Regions from separate parts of the Homo sapiens genome. Here all the other regions are linked to region 2. Evidence: promoter capture Hi-C in human tissues and cell types (Jung and others, 2019). All regions are on one chromosome and are shown on one strand. The core of a region is centred on a gene start or on the middle of the fragment in contact, and the rest is flanking DNA. Distances in the headings are between cores, read along the strand shown.

What was found. Contacts are between HindIII fragments. The study calls those that stand out against the background at their distance.
Region 1: a fragment that was not itself captured here is called in contact with the fragment with the promoter of ALDH3A1 in region 2 in 7 of the 25 tissues and cell types used here (adrenal gland, aorta, bladder and 4 more).
Region 3: a fragment that was not itself captured here is called in contact with the fragment with the promoter of ALDH3A1 in region 2 in 6 of the 25 tissues and cell types used here (adrenal gland, bladder, lymphoblastoid cells and 3 more).

What each region holds. Positions count from the first base shown.
Region 1 is chr17:19,855,100-19,858,472 of GRCh38, forward strand. The region is part of intron 3 of ULK2 (unc-51 like autophagy activating kinase 2); the gene reads right to left. Among named protein-coding and RNA genes, the nearest start is that of TRG-CCC3-1, 4.1 kb to the right of the region's middle. The HindIII fragment of the contact is 7,474 bases long and covers 1-3,373 here.
Region 2 is chr17:19,746,063-19,749,882 of GRCh38, forward strand. It overlaps ALDH3A1 (aldehyde dehydrogenase 3 family member A1), which reads right to left and starts at 2,236. Exons shown (of 11, transcript NM_000691.5): 1 at 2,197-2,236. The HindIII fragment of the contact is 25,713 bases long and covers 1-3,820 here.
Region 3 is chr17:19,632,808-19,636,185 of GRCh38, forward strand. It overlaps the pseudogene SLC47A1P2. Among named protein-coding and RNA genes, the nearest start is that of ALDH3A2, 14 kb to the right of the region's middle. The HindIII fragment of the contact is 7,870 bases long and covers 1-3,378 here.

The sequences.
Region 1 (3,373 bases), core at 711-3,210, 110 kb after region 2:
AAAAAAAAAAAAAAAAGAGGCTAGGCCAGGCGTGGTGGCTCACGCCTGTAATCCCAGCACTTTGGGAGGCCGAGGCGGGTGGATCACAAGGTCAGGAGATCGAGACCATCCTGGCTAACACTGTGAAACCCCGTCTCTACTAAAAATACAAAAAATTAGCCAGGCATGGTGGCGGGCGCCTGTAGTCCCAGCTACGCGGGAGGCTGAGGCAGGAGAATGGCGTGAACCCGGGAGGCAGAGCTTGCAGTGAGCCGAGATCGCGCCACTGCACTCCAGCCTGGGTGACAGAGCGAAACTCCATCTCAAAAAAAAAAAAGAAAAGAAACCCTATCTCTACTAAAAATACAATAATTAGCCGGGTGTGGTAGCAGGTGCCTGTAATCCCAGCTACTGGGTAAGCTAAGGCAGGAGAATCACTTGAATCCGAGAGGCGGAGGTTGTAGTGAGCCGAGACTGTGCCATTGCACTCCAGCCTGGGCAACAGAGCAAGACTCCATCTCAAAAAAAAAAAAAAAAAAAAAGGAAAAAAAGTCTAAAGTAAGACCCCCCCACAAAAATACCAAACAAAATGGGAAAAATATCTCAAAACATGACAAAGAGCTATCAACTCTGATTCCCTCTTGTTTACCTCCTACAGTCCAAGTGCCCAAGTCCTAACAATTCTATCTCCTAAACATCTCACTAATCTGTCCAGGCCTCTGTCTCCATTGATACCAACATTCTTTCTTACCCAGATATAAATAGCTCTTTCTTTTTAATAACGGTATACACTGAGCATGGTGGCACAGGCCTGTAATCACAGCTACTCAGGAGGCAAAGGCAGGAAGATCGCTTGAGCCCAGGAGTTAGAGGCTGCAGTGAGATATGATGGCACCACAGAAGAAATGCACTCCAGCCTGAGTAACAGAGTAAGACCTCATTTCTAAATAAGTATTTAAAAATAAAAATAAATGTACAGTTCAATGTGTTGTGACAAATGTTTACACCTACGTATCTACCCTGCCAATCAAAATACATAACAATTCCATCACCCCAAGAAGTTCTCTCATGCCCCTTTCCTATCACTCCCTGGGACCAAGAGTCAACCTCTGTTCTGATTTCTATCACCCTAGCTTACTTCTGACTCTTCCCAAAATTCACAAAAACAGAATTATACTGTAGCAGTATATGGCATGCTTATTTTTCTCAAAATAATGTTTGAGGCCGGGCGCGGTGGCTCACGCCTGTAATCCCAGCACTTTGGGAGGCCGAGGCAGGCGGGTCACGAGGTCAGGAGATCAAGACCATCCTGGCTAACACAGTGAAACCCCATCTCTACTAAAAATACAAAAAATTAGCCGGGTATGGTGGCAGGTGCCTGTAGTCCCAGCTACTCAGGAGGCTAAGGCAGGAGAATGAGGGGAACCTGGGAGGCAGAGCTTGCAGTGAGCCGAGATCGCGCCACTGCACTCTAGCCTGGGCGACAGAGCGAGACTCCGTCACACACACAAAAAAAAAAAAGTTTGAAATTCACGTTATGACATGTATCGTTTGTTCCTTTTTATATATGTCAATTTGTTCATTGTATTATTTGCTATAAAACGAGTTTTACGGCCGGGTGCAGTGGCTCACGCCTGGAATCCCAGCACTTTGGGTGGCCGAGGCGGGCAGATCACAAGGTCAGGAGATCGAGACCATCCTGGCTAACACGGTGAAACCCCGTCTCTACTAAAAAATACAAAAACAAAATTAGCCAGGCATGGTGGTAGGCGCCTGTAGTCCCAGCTACTCGGGAGGCTGAGGTGGGAGAATAGTGTCAACCCAGGAGGTGGAGCTTGCAGTGAGCCGAGATCGCACCACGGCACTCCAGCCTTGGTGACAAAGCGAGACTCCATCTCCAAAAAAAAAAAAAAAAAAAAAAAAAAAGAGTTTTAAAATTTTTTATAGCCAGGCACGGTGGCTCACACCTGTAATCCCAACACTTTGGGAGGCCAAGACGGGCAGATCACCTGAGGTCGGGAGTTCGAGACCAGGCTGGCCAATACGGCAAAACCTCGTCTCTACCAAAAATACAGACATTAGCCAGGTGTGGTGGCGGGGCGCCTGTAATCCCAGCTACTCAGGAGGCTGAGGCAGGGAGAATTGCTTGAACCTGGGAGGTGGAGGTTGCAGTGGGCCAAGATCACGGCATTGCACTCCAGCCTGGGTGACAGAGTGAGACTCTGTCTCAAAAAAAAAAAAAAAAAAATGTTTTACATGTCCCTACTAGAGCTTCTGATACTACAGCTTCTGAGTTTCTTATCTTGATTTAAAATGTCTTTCCATCCCTTGGATTGTACAGTCATTTAAATATTATTCTGAGACTGTTATTGTTTACTTTATATATTTAAGCTTTTAATTCATTTGGAAATGATTTTGGAAAATGATGAGAATGGTGTTCCAATTCTATTTTTTGTCAGATGTCTCAGTTTTATGAGCACCACCTATTAAATTAATCATCTTTTTCTTGCGATACTAAAAATTACCAAGAGGTAGATATTTAACCAGGCCACTGACAATCACACAGTTATGTATTCCTAAGTGAAAGTACTTATCTCATGCTCAGAGTGCTCTAGGAGATTTATCTTTTGAAAAACAAAAACGGTATCACTCTCCTGCTTTTAAAACTCTTCAATAGCTTTGTACTGTCCTTAAGATAAAGATCAGATCTGGCTCCTGCTAACCTCTCCAGTATCATCTAACACTATGCTCTCGCTCTCATTACTGTACTCCAGACACACTAGCCTTCTTCCAGTTCCTCAAACTCAGTGATCTCTCCTGTCAGTGGTCTTTACAGAAGCCTTCATCTCCTTGGGAAACTTACTTTATTTTCTCCCATTAACCCCCACCTAGCCTTCTCCCACCCATCCCTCAGTCTCTACAGATATCATTTCCCCAGGAAGCCTTCCCTTGTCCCATTTTCCTAGGCCCCATATTGTTCAAACCTCGCCAAGAGCTCTCCCTTACAGCACTTGGCACACTTGGAAATAGTAACTATTGGCCCGGGTGTGGTGGCTCACGCCTGTAATCCCAGCACTTTGGGAAGCCAAGCTGGGCAGGTCGCTTAAGCTCAGAAGTTTGAGACCAGGCTGAGCAACATGGTGAAACTCCATCTCTACAAAAAATAGAAAAATTAGCCAGGCATGGTGGTGCCTGCCTGTAGTCCCAGATACTTTGAAGGCTGAGGTGGGAGGATGGCTTAAGCCCAAAGGGTGGAGGCTGCAGTGAGGTGTGGTCATGCCACCACACTCCAGCCTGGGCAAGAGAGCCAGACCCTGTCTCAAAAAAGAAAAAAAAAAGAAATAGTAACTATTTGCTTAATGTCATCTTCCCTAATATCCTGTAAGAGTTCCAC
Region 2 (3,820 bases), core at 986-3,485:
GTGTCTCAGGCACTGGGGATAAGAAAGAAAACAGGTTACAGGCCGGGCGCGGTGGCTCACGCCTATAATCCTAGCAAACACTTTGGGAGGCTGAGGTGGGCGGGTCACCTGAGGTCAGAAGTTCAAAACCAGCCTGGCCAACATGGTGAAACCCTGTCTCTACTAAAAATACAAAAATTATCTGGGAGTGGTGGCAGGCACCTGTAGTCCCAGCTACTTGGGAGGCTGAGGCAGGAGAATTGCTTGAACCAAGCTGAGAGGAGGAGGTTGCAGTGGGCCGAGATTGGGCCATTGCACTCCAGCACTTTGACCGGGAGAATGGAGCCATAATCACAGAGTTCTCCTATTAGATTAGTGGTAGGAGGTAAGGCAAGGTTAGTGAGATTTGCTAGAAGTCAAGAGGCTGTCAGTGGAAGCGGTATTTGAAGGCCTCGGGTAAGTAATATAATTACTTTCAGCGAGACTCCATCTAAAAAAAGAAAAAGAAAGAAAGAAAGAAAGAAAAACAGAAAACAAGTTACAGAACAACAGATGTACCAGGCGTGTGCATGTGTGTGTGTGCGTGTGTGTGTGTGCGTGTGCGTGTGTGTGCATGTGTGTGTGTGCGTGTGTGTGCATGTGCGTGTGTGTGTGCGTGCGTGTGTGTGCATGTGCGTGTGTGTGCGCGCGTGTGCGTGTGTGTGTGGGCGTGCACGCTCTAACATGCAAGAAAGGACTAGAACGGTAGCCCCCGACACGATGAGACAACTGATGGGGGTGGAATTATTGATGATCTGTTTTCCTCTTATGCAATGTTTGACTTTTTGCAATGAGCTTGTATTTTTTAAATTTTGGTGCGTTTTAAGATAGGCACTACATGCTCATGAAACAAAATGTAAAATATAGCAAAGGGGCACAGAAAAAAGTCTGCCTCCCTCCTCCCTGCTCCATCAGCTGTCAGGTGCTGCCCCACAGAGGGGCCACTGTTACCAGTTCCTTACTCCCCTTCCTGAGATACTCAGCCCACTTGCAGACCCGGCATAACTTTTAACATCAGCAGAAATAGGGTATTTCCATTTTTTTAAAAAACCCTATATATCATATGTAATATATAATTATATTGTATATAGATATATGGTCCTGCCTACATTCCAGCGAGTGGCTTCCAATCCTTCCTCTGCCTCCCCTCCCCATAGGCTGACCCCTAATCCCAGGCTTTCTGCACAGGGAGGAGGGACCTGCTGGCATTGAGGGTGCTCTAAGCCTGGCCCTTCCATGGTCCCTCCCTATGTTCTGATAGGAGGCTGGGAAAGCCCCCTCACTGGGACCTCCTCAGTCCCATGGGCCAGGCCCCTCCTGCTGACCACAACCCAGGAGAGAAGGTCCCGCTTCTCTCCCGAGCCTTGTACGGTCAAACCAAGGCAGGCAGCCCAGGTGGGAAGAGCCTGGTGAGCGTGGGACGGGATTGGCCTTGCACCCCAGCATCGCCACTTGGAACTGTGGTCTCTGGGCTGGACGGCCTTCCCAGGACTTCCCCGAGAGACAGGTTAACAAAGGTGCCACTTCACAGAGATGAGTGGACACCATCACGTCGCAGCTGCACCCAAATGGGAGCTGCTGCAGCATGCACTGGGGGCCTCCCCAGAGCCCGTCGCCTCACACCCCACATTCCTGCACCCCGCTCCTCTCACCTGTGCCAGTGTTGACTTTGCCCCCCAGTGACACCTCCTCCCCTCCTCATTGCCTTCCATCCTCACAAAAGCTCTGTAGTGATGCCCATGAAGAAGAAACGGTTATGAGTGCATTTTACAGATGAGGAAAGGGAGACTGAGAAACGTTTAATGCTGTATCTGATCTCACAGTTAGCAGGTGGCATGTCAGGGTTTGAACCCACATGCATCTCTGTCAGCAGCTCATGCCTTTAGCACTCGGCTCTGCTGCCTTCCTTCCAGTCATGGAGTCTGACGGCCCATCAGGGCCTCTCACTCCACGGCCACCTTGGTGTCCCTGCTCCGCGGATCCCTGGGACCTCTGCCTCCTGGTTTGGGGGATGGCAGAGCTGCCAGAGGTCCAGGAGGATGCTCCAGAGATGATGGTCCCAGAGGCAGGGACCCCCTGGAGAGATGATGTAGGACTCTTGACACTTAGGGCCCCGGCTCTGAGTGCAGACTCCACCTAGACAAGAGAAAAAATAAGGAATGCAGGGAAGAGGATTACCTTTGACACAGCCTCTCCCGGTAACTGGGGCTCCTGGAACGGCAAGAGCCAAGAGGGGACGTATTTAAGGACCCTGCTTCCCGTCCATTGAGCCCTTGGAGTTCCTGCCCAGGAAGTTTGCGTGACAAGAAAAAAAAATATTCAAATGTGGGGTGTGGCGTCCTCTGGACCTCTGCTCCCTACAGCCCAGGTTTTGGGGATTAGGTCCCGGGCTGTTTGCTTTTGTTCACTTCTGAAATGCGAGAATGTTTCTGAAGGCTTGGGCAGGGCACATCTCCAATCTTCAAAAGAGCCTATGTTTGCCCTGGGCGTGGGGGCTGCTGATTGATTCAGCCTGGCATGGAGCTCTTCCAGCTTTCCAGACTTGCCGCTGCCAGATGCGGTTCTCTGAGTTCTCTGGTTACATAAGATCGGCAGGGCTCAGCCACGAACCACAGTGAGAGCATGCAGCTCCCCCGAAACGCACCCCCAGCCACCGCTGCCCCGGGCCCTTCACATCCCCCAGTGTGCACAGGGCCCCATTGAGTCAGAGATCCTAACCCTGGGGAGCCACAGGCTGGGGACTTTTGATGGGGGTCTCCAATCCATAAATCTGCTCTCTCGTTGAATAGCTGAGAAGAGGGCCAAGGGTCTGTGTGGTCACCGAAAACCAGAGATGCTTGGGAAGGAAGGAGTCTGGAAAAGCCGTTCCCACGCTGTCTGATCAATGTTCGCTGGGCTCCTGCTCTGCACCACGCTGTGGGGAGGAGGCAGGTGTGGAACAGACTCTCGGCCCCTCTCACCAGGCGCTTCCCGCCACCCTCACCCGCCTGCAGGCAGACTGCTTACCAGCATGGGGTCCCTGCTTCCCATTTCATTCGAGGAAAACACAAGGTTCCGGTCCTGGCCTACGAGTCCTGAGGATGTGCTCTGGCCCTCCTGCTTCTCTCCACCTGGAGCCCCCTTCCCCTACATCCACCCACACGGCTACGCTCCAATGTGCTGTGGAAAATAGCACAATGCTGTCGTCTTCCTCCATTATTTTTTCTCTGGAGCGTTTATATCTTGTTTGCTACCTGTCCCTTAACTCCTGACAGCTAGAATTTGATTTGTTCACTGCTGTAACCTCCATACAGCATTTATAGTAGATGCTCAATAAATATTTATTGACTGACAAAATAAACAGGAAATTTCAAAATAATGTGAACACTGTAGTAACCAGGTAGGCAGAGGATGCTAGAGGGGCTGGGGTGAGAGTCCGTGGGAGGGAACATCATCTGAGCTGAGTGAGAAGCATTTGGGCAAGGAACAGCAAGGGGGCTGGAAGAGCAGAAGCAAAGGCACAGAGGCTGGGAACGTTATGTCACGAAAAAGTGCGATGTGTCCACTGTTGCCAGCAGGAGGTGTGGAGGTGAATGACTCTCCTGGGGCGGGGGCTCACGGAGGCCTGTGGGCCAGGCTGGCTGTGGGGGTGCAGGGCGCTGAGGAGATTATCAGACAGACAAATGTCTGCTATTTTTTGTTTTAGAGAACCCCCTGGACAGGGCACAGTGTGAGAAAGGTCTAGCCCAAAGGCTGCAGCTTCCAGCAATGCAGGCAAGAAATGACGAGACCCCCAAATAAGACTAACAGAATGGGAAACATT
Region 3 (3,378 bases), core at 799-3,298, 110 kb before region 2:
TGTAGCCAGAGTTGCTCAGTTTGCAAGATCCTGCTCTCTTGCTCAATAAAACTTGTCTCAGCCCTAGTAATTGGTGAGATCACCTGTGGGTTCTCCTATGAAATATTTTTAAATGTAATTTCACATATACTAACTGATAACTGAGGGTTATTGTTTATAACGTATTCTTAGGTAAACTTCATAATATGCCTTTACTTGACATAATATGCCTTTACTGGACATAAGTGAATACCCCACTATTCTCTGCAAACAGATCTACCTATCTTGGGAAGAGAAGTAACTGATGGAATCATTTTGCCTGATATCATCAGACCAGAGAGCCAGACCCCTCGACTGATGAGACCAGAAGAAAACACCCAGTATGCAATGTCCACCGCTGGAGAGGTCCTGACAGTGAGGCAGCTGATATTCTATCATGGAATGGCTTTAGCTCTTGCTGTCACTTTCCTTTCAGCAGGAATTTTCATTAAGAGTTTTCAATGACCATGGCTAAAATGGTAGAATTACCACCATTCTACAAACTAGAAATGATAATTATATGCCATATGTTAAGTATGAAAGGTGACCTTGTTATTTGGACAGTTTTTACTCTTAACTGTGGATGGAAAGAATATCAGGGATGTTTCCTTGGTTATTCCAAGGAATTGCACTATCCTATTGGAGATCAAGAAAGGGGCTATAATTTTAAGTAAAGTTTTCCCTGTTAATTTTATCATGGTTTCTAAATATACAAATTAGATTTTCCTTGATGTAAAGGTTACTTACTCTTTCTTATTTCAAACATCTTTCTTCTCCTGGGGAGTGGTTCATAGTCCTGTAAAATATTATTGCTGATCTATTTTCTTTGTATTTCTCTATGAATGTACTTAATCTTGTCAGTGAGTGTATATTAAGTGCTTGTTCAAGTCCTATCTCAGGTATTGCCATATAAGCTTTTATAAAATGGAACCTCTTAAAATTTACAATGTATGCTGACAATATTTGGAGCTATACAGTCAATACAAAAGATTAACTTTTAGCATTTTTGCCTTTTAATTAATTTTGTGGCAACTTTCATTTAAAGTAGAAAATAAAGTAGAAAATAAAGAGCTGTGTTCTCTTCTGCTACTCAGCTCCCAGAATGCTGGCAGCTATGGTGGCCTCATCCTCAAAGCAAAAGAGTTTTAGTCTTTTATAGGAAATTAGACCAGCCCAAAAAGAAAATCCTTAAAAAAATCTGAATATTGGGTATTCTCTCACACAAAGCCCACCAGATTCCCAGGAGAGGAGCCCACAGTGGAAAGCACCCAATGTCACCAGTGCTTCCCTTAGCTTATTTGTCTCCCTCTCTTGAGTGTTAACAAGCAACCCAGTATTATCAGATTATTTGTGAAAATCCAATTATAGGAGAAAGCAACCAGAAAAAAAATAGGCATTATAGGGAGAAAACTTACATCTTCAAAGAGGTAACGCAAAATATTTCAACTATGATATAGAATAGGATGCTATAGAATAAAACATTCAGTCAGGTATGGTGGTACACACTTCTAATCCCGGCACTTTGGGAGGCTGAGGCAGGTGGATGGCTTGAGCCTAGGAGTTCAAGACCAACCTTGGTAACATGGCAAAACCCCATCTCTACAACAAAACCACACGTCTGTAGTCCCAGCTACTCAGGATCTGAGGTGGGAAGATCACTTGAGCCCAGGAGTTCGAGGCTACAGTGAGCTCTGATCACACCACTGCACTCCAAAAAAAAGTTTTTTTTCCAGAAGATTATGTATGTACGTATGTATGTATGTATGTATGTATTTAGAGACAGGATCTGGCTCTGTCTCCCTGGCTCAAGCAGTGGCATGATCACAGCTACTGTAGCTTTGATCTCCTGGGCTGAAGCGATCCTCCCACCTCAACCTCCCATGTAGCTGGGACTACAGGCGTGTGCCACCACTTCTGGCTAATTTTTTTTTTTAGTTTTAGTAGAGATGAAATCTCGCTATGTTTCCTATGGTGGTCTTGAACTTCCGAGCTCAAGAGATCCTCCTGCCTTGGTCTCCCAAAGTGCTGGGATTACAGGCGTGAGCCACTGTGACTGGCCCTAGATTTTATTGAAGTAAAATTCATATAACATAAAATTAACCCTTCCAAAACATTTTTATCATACCAAAAAGGAAACTCAGATTATTAACCTCTCACTCCCCATACCCCTCTCCCTGAGTTCCTGGCAACCACTAATCTGCTGTCTGTGCCTGTGGATTTACCTATTTTGGATGTTTCATAATGAAGGAATCATAGAACATGTGACCTTTTGAGTCTGGCTTTTTGAACTTGGCATGCATGATGGTTTTGCAATTCCTCTATTTTTTTTTTTGAAACAGAGTCTCATTCTGTCACCCAGGCTGGAGTGCAGTAGCACGATCTCAGCTCACTGCAACCTCCACTTCCCAGGTTCAAGCAATTCTCCTGCCTCAGCCTCCTGAGTAGCTGGGACTACAGGTGCGTGCCACCATGCCCGGCTCATTTTTGTATTTTTAGTAGAGACGGGGTTTCACCATGTTGGTTAGGCTGGTCTTGAACTCCTGGCCTCGTGATCCACCCACCTCGGCCTCCCAAAGTGCTGGGATTACAGGCATGAGCCACCATGCCTGGCCCGCGATTCCTCTATGTTGTAGCATGTCTCTCAAAACTTGATTCCTTTTTCTGGCTGAATAGTTTATTGTGTGATATGCCACCTGGTGTTTATTAATCAGTTGATGGACTTTTAGATTGTTTCTATGTTTTGGCAATTGTGAATAATGCTGTAGTAAATACTCGTGTACAAGTTTTTGTTTGAACACCTGTTTTCGCTTCTTTTGAGTCTATACCTAGGAGTGGAATTACTGGGTTATATGATAATTCTATTTTTTTTCTTTCTTTCTTTTTTTTTTTTTTGAGATGGAGTCTTGCTCTGTTGCCCAGGCTGGAGTGCAGTGGCGCGATCTTGGCTCACTGCAAGCTCTGCCTCCTGGGTTCACGCCATTCTTCTGCCTCAGCCTCCTGAGTAGCTGGGACTACAGGCACCCGCCACGATGCCTGGCTAATTTTTTGTATCTTTAGTAGAGACAGGGTTTCACCATGTTAGCCAGGATGGTCTCAATCTCCTGACCTCATGATCCGCCTGCCTCGGCCTCCCAAAGTGCTGGGATTACAGGCGGATAATTCTATTTTTTTTGAGGAACTGCCAAAATGTTTCCCATGGTGGCTGCACCATTCTTCATTGCCACCAGCAGTGTATGAGGTTTCCAGTTTCTCCACATCCTTGCTAACACTTGTGATTTTCTTTTTGATTTTAGTTATATCATACTAGTGGGTGGGAAGTGGTGTCTCATTGTGATTACTAGAGATCACATACTACTAATA